Linked DNA regions of Homo sapiens: region 1 is linked to region 2. Evidence: promoter capture Hi-C in 16 types of primary human blood cells and fetal thymus (Javierre and others, 2016). All regions are on one chromosome and are shown on one strand. Each heading gives the region's core, a stretch centred on a gene start or on the middle of the fragment in contact. The rest is flanking DNA. Distances are from core to core; before and after follow the strand shown.

The links. Contacts are between HindIII fragments. The CHiCAGO score rates a contact against its expected background, and 5 or more counts as called.
Region 1: a contact is called between a fragment that was not itself captured here and the fragment with the promoter of CLSTN1 in region 2, in 2 of 17 cell types (non-activated CD4 T cells and activated CD4 T cells). The highest score is 5.8, in non-activated CD4 T cells.

The regions. Positions count from the first base shown.
Region 1 is chr1:9,579,198-9,581,897 of GRCh38, forward strand. SLC25A33 (solute carrier family 25 member 33) reads left to right here. Exons shown (of 7, transcript NM_032315.3): 6 at 757-1,037. Among named protein-coding and RNA genes, the nearest start is that of TMEM201, 8.4 kb to the right of the region's middle. The HindIII fragment of the contact is 1,791 bases long and covers 450-2,240 here.
Region 2 is chr1:9,822,450-9,825,222 of GRCh38, forward strand. CLSTN1 (calsyntenin 1) reads right to left here and starts at 1,516. Exons shown (of 19, transcript NM_001009566.3): 1 at 1,194-1,516. The coding sequence starts at 1,284. RefSeq lists silencers at 1,238-1,317, 1,328-1,477, 1,648-1,697, 1,718-1,777 and an enhancer at 1,390-2,106. The HindIII fragment of the contact is 4,716 bases long and covers 233-2,773 here.

The DNA of each region.
Region 1 (2,700 bases), core at 95-2,594, 240 kb before region 2:
GGGGGTTTTCCCCACACACACCAAACAGCGGACACCAGCTGGGTGTCCTCTCATTCACTTCCGACACTGTCTACCAGGAGACAGCCCCACAGATTGGGGGCTCAGTCCCCAGGACTGCCCACCCCCCGCCCACCCACTTACCCACACACCAGTTGTATGTCTGGGCCTCCAGAGCTTCTGAACGACCAGCTTCAAGTTGGGGTTCCCATGACCCTCTCTTTGGATTCTATTAATGTGCTGGAGTGGCTCACAGAACTCAGGGAAACACTTAATGTTTACTGGTTTGTTATAGAGGACATCGCAAGGATACAGAAGAAGAGACAGGTAGGGCCAGGTACAGAGTAAGGGGCGTGGAGCTTTCATACCCTCCCCGGGGGCCACCCTCCAGGAGCCTCCATGCGATCAGCTCTGGAAGCTCCCTGAACCCTGTCCTCTTGGGTTTTTCTGGAAGCTTCATGTCAGCAGCATTCCTTCTCCCAGAGATAGGAGGGGACTCTCATGGAGTAAGACCAACAAGGTAAGGACATTAGAGGATGGCCTTGGGGCAGGTGAAAGGAGATCAAGGGACTGTCAGAGGCTGCCCCTGCGGCCTCACACACCCCACATAACGAAAGACAAGGGCTATGAGAGTTAGGAGCCAGGAAACAAGTATCCTAACACCATAAGGAAGACCCGTACCTGTTCTCCTACTGTGTGATGTCTGTGTTCCACCATGATATGTCTCCTTAACAGCCTGTGTTGGTCTCTTTTATGCAGAGTGAGGGGCTCTAAGCAGATGAATACACTCCAGTGTGCTCGTTACGTTTACCAGACCGAAGGCATTCGTGGCTTCTATAGAGGATTAACTGCCTCGTATGCTGGAATTTCCGAAACTATAATCTGCTTTGCTATTTATGAAAGTTTAAAGAAGTATCTGAAAGAAGCTCCATTAGCCTCTTCTGCAAATGGGACTGAGAAAAATTCCACAAGTTTTTTTGGACTTATGGCAGCTGCTGCTCTTTCTAAGGGCTGTGCCTCCTGCATTGCTTATCCACACGGTATGTTTTGCTTTTGTTCTTCCAGAGCAGTAAAACAGCTGTCACGTTTGTTGTTTGTGGGTATATCTAGACTTCTGAGGCGCACATTGAGGCGCAGGATCCCTGCAGGTAAGGTCAGTGAGTATGAGGGAAACAGCTCTAACCGCATGGACAGAGGTCACGTGAGTGGTGGGAACTCGACCTTACTCAAATCCAGCTGATTATAGCCAAAACTTGTTGTGCAGAAACGCAGGTCCTGGGTTGCTGAACTTTTGCTGTTTTCAAGGAAGCTAAAAATCTGGATTGTATTTAATATTCCTTGAATCAAAATGATAATATGGGAGCCAAACTTACTCAGCCTCGGCGGGGCACGGTGGCTCACGCCTGTAATCCCAGCACTTTGGGAGGCTGAGGCGGGCGGATCATGAGGTCAAGGGATTGAGACCAGCCTGGCCAACATGGTGAAACCCCGTCTCTACTAAAAATACAAAAATTAGCTGGGCGTGGTGGCGCACGCCTGTAGTCCCAGCTACTTGGGAAGCTGAGGCAGGAGAATCGCTTGAACCCGGGAGGTGGAGGTTGCAGTGAGCCGAGATCAAGCCACTGCACTCCACCCTGGCAACAGAGCGAGACTCTGTCTCAAAAAAAAAAAAATAATAATAATAATAATAATAATAATAATCATTCAGCCTCTATTTCTAATGGAGCCTTAAGGCTACTTTGGGTAAGTTTATTTTTTTGAGTTATAGAATTCTTGACCTACTGGCCTACTTATTTTAAAAAATGCTTAGTTTATTGTGCCATGAAAAACAGGTTTTATTTTCATAAGCCTTCTGTACTGTCAGCTATGGCAAATGCATACAGTCAACTCAGTAACAGGTGCTGAGTCCCCTTTGTGTCCTGGAGCACTAAGCTGACCCCAGAGGACATCTGAGGAAAGAGGTCAGTGATGCCTCCCAGGGTCTGAGGTCTGTGTGAGGGCAGGAGTGACGAATGTCCAACTCTAGGTGTCTGGGAAGGAGGCCCAGGTGGGCAAAGGCTGGCAAAGGAGAGGGTGGCTTTTGAGCTGGGCAGAGTAGAAAACGTTTCCAGGAGGAGGAGGAAACTGAAAAATATAAGAAAAGAATTCGTTGAAGGTATTGCCATACTTCATACAAATTAGCATTTGCTTAATTGGGAGTAGAAAACCATGAATTATTTTAACATTAAGTCTCATTGAAACTAAGCTTTTTTTAACCCCTTAAAAGTTATTTTGCTGTAATCCCAGCACTTTGGGAGGCCAAGATGGGCACATCACCTGAGATTAGGAGTTCGAAACCAGGCTGGCCAACATGGCGAAACCCCGTCTCTACTAAAAATACAAAAATTAGCTGGGTGTGGTGGCAGGTGCCTGTAATCCCAGCTACTCAGGAGGCTGAGGCAGGAGAATCACTTGAACCCAGAAGGCAGAGGTTGCAGTGAGCCAAGATCGTACCGACTGCACTCCAGCCTGAGTAATAGAGTGAGACTCTGCCTCAAAAAAAAAAAAAAAAAAGTTATTTTGTACTTTCGTGTATGTGTAAGTGTCCATAGTTGACCAAATCCTAGAGTTGGAAAAGGTTCTAAAAAGAACTTAATTTTTCATTGTCTCTCTAGGTTATGTGACTTTCCTGTCCAAATACAGCTGAGGTGGGAAATAGACACA
Region 2 (2,773 bases), core at 266-2,765:
GGAAAATAAGAATTTTTAAAAAGCTTGCTAAATTCAAATATGACCATTTCATCTAGATTTCTATCAATCCTCCTCCCCAAAATTTCTTTTGATTAAAAAAAAATCAGAACAACAGATTTAAGCCTACAGTAGATTCTACAGACTACACCTAGATTACTCTGCTCTAAGGCCAAGGAAAATGTTTACGATTTCAAGATCCACTCAGAAGCAAATACTGTATCTGCAATGCGTAAGCTTTTCGTTGGCAAGACCAGTCAATAGCAGAGGCATGCAAGGTTTAAAAGGTTAAGTGGATGAAGGTTAAAAGCTAATAATAAATTAGCCAAGAAATACTACTTCCCACCGAGCCATAAAATAATTTCGGTCCTACAATCCTAAAAAACCAGAGAGGTTTCTCGTTTTTGTAGAGAACATCTAACCCTCCACGGTCTAAATGACCGTCAGAAAAACAGCACCAAGGCACCAGGGGTAGCAGAGACGGAGATTTCTAACACTGGGTGAGCCCGCGGTCGCAAATCTCATCGCGATTTCACCTTTGGGTGAAAAGGTGGGAGGGAAGCACTAAGTTTCAGCCTCGGCTCCACTGGAAACAGACAACGTCTGAAGGACTCTGGGAGGAGGCGGAAAGGGGCGAAGTCGTGGTGTCCGCGGTGCAGCAACACAGAATCGGGATCTTGGAAACGGGATGCGGAGGAGTGGGCTCTTATGTAAGCACACACCAAAACTGTGCGTGCACCCCCCGCCTGATGCACATCTGAGCACACGTACACAGAGCATCTCACCCAGGGGTGCAGCCCCAGCCTGCGTGCGCCGCTGAGCAGGGCGGACTGACCCTTCGGCCCGTCTGCACGTTCCCCCAAATCAGCGCAGCCACCACCATGGGCTGCAGTGGGGGCAGCCCAGGCTCAGGAGCCCCGCCCGGGACGGAGCCTGGCTTCCCCGGGACGCCTGCAGCGCGCGCCCACAGTCTCCTGCGCCCTGGCCCCGGCTCCGCGAGCCCGACCCCCAACCCGAACCCCACGCCCTGACCCGGCTCCCTGCGCTCGGACCCGACTCCCCGCATCCCGGCTCGAATCCCGGCATCCGGCCCTACTCCCGCACCCGGACCCGAATCCCCGCACCGGGACCCGAATCCTGCACCCGGACCCGAATCCCGCACCGACCCAGCGGCCCGGCCCAGCCCCGGGGCTTACCTCGCGCGGCCCAGACCCCGCCGCCGCACAGCAGCCCGGCCAGCAGCAGCCGGGCGGCCGGGGCCAGCGCGGGAGCGGGGCGGCGCAGCATCGCCAGCCCGGGGCGGGAGCGGCAGGGAGGCGCGCGGGACGCCGAGCGGAGCTCTCGGAGCTCTCGGGGCTCTAGGGGCCTGGGGCTAGCTGCTCCGCGGCGCGGGGAGCTCCGGGGGTCCAAGGAGGAGCCGCCGCCGCCGCCGCCGTGACGCTGGGCCGCGCGCTCAGGACGCGGCGCCCTCCCCGCCTCAGAGCAGCGTCTTGCTGAAGGCAGCGGCAGCAACTAAGATGGCGGCGGCGCTCTCTCTCGGGTCCGGCGAGGGTACCCGGCCGGGGGCGGGGTGGCGGCGGGAGGGGCGGGGATGGGGAGCGACGCGAGGCGCGCGCGCGGCGGACCCTGGGAGCGCGCGGGCCCGGGAGGGGCGGGGGAGAGGAGCGGAGGGAGCGCGCGCGGCGGACCCGGCAGCGGGCGCGCGCCTCCGAGCCCGTCGGCCCCGCCTGGAGCGCGCGCCCGCGGGGACGCGCCTGGGGTGGGTTCCGAGCGGCCGGGAGGGGCCCGGGGGACTGTATCCCTTTCCCTGGCCGCAGATGGAGAGCCTCAACTCCGCGTCCCTACGCGCGCTCCCGGGCTCCTAAGGCCGGGTGAGCGGTACCCGGGGACCCGCTCCTCCTTCTCCACCCCGAGGACTCATCCTTCCCACCCGCTCCGCCGAGGAGCGCAGACCCCGGCGGAGCAGTGCGGCCCAGGACCCTTGTCACTTCGGGCAGGTCGCGTCGCCCCCCAGAACCTCGGGGTCCTCGTCTCCCCAGTAGAGGTGTTGAGAGGGGTCACGAAAGGGGGTCCAGGAGACGAGGTCAGCGAAACGCGCCTGGTAAACAGTTAAGGGCCGCGCAGCACTACCCACACCGGCTCCCGCCCCGGGACCTGCCCCCGGGGAGTCTGTCCTGAATTCACTGAAGGAATCTATTTGTGACTTTCAAAAGGCGGCTGGTGTGCGCGCTCTTTCTCAGTGACATGGTGCGATGCTGGTTCTTAGAAATGCGGAGGTCCGAATGGATAGAGAGGACAGAGAAGCCCTCCCCCTCTACCGTGGATCCCTACAGGGATCTTGGGGTCCTCCCAATTTCCCAGCGTCCAGCGGCCCCCTCCTCCTCGCCTCTGGACCCCTGGCACCCCCCCGCAGTGGAGGAAAGGCCTGGAACAGCCGTGGATGGGCGTGTGTGCAGGCACTGTACCCTATGAGACACTACTGGCTCCATTTTGCAGATAAGGAAACTAAGTCAGAAAGGTGAAATGACTTCCCCCGTTGGGACAACTATTGTAAAAAGAATCAGCCCTCAAGGACAGGATGTTCGCATTAGGGGGACACCAACAGCAAAAAGTGGAACCCTAAAATGTTCATTTTTCGAGACCGCTGGAGGAGCTATCCATGAATGTCACTGCTCCAGGTGGGGGTGGAGGAGGCTGGCAGCACTGGAGGCTGGGTGGAGACTGGTTTGTGGGGCGCAGAGGACTTATTTAGGAGACTAGTGGGCAAAGAGCCCAA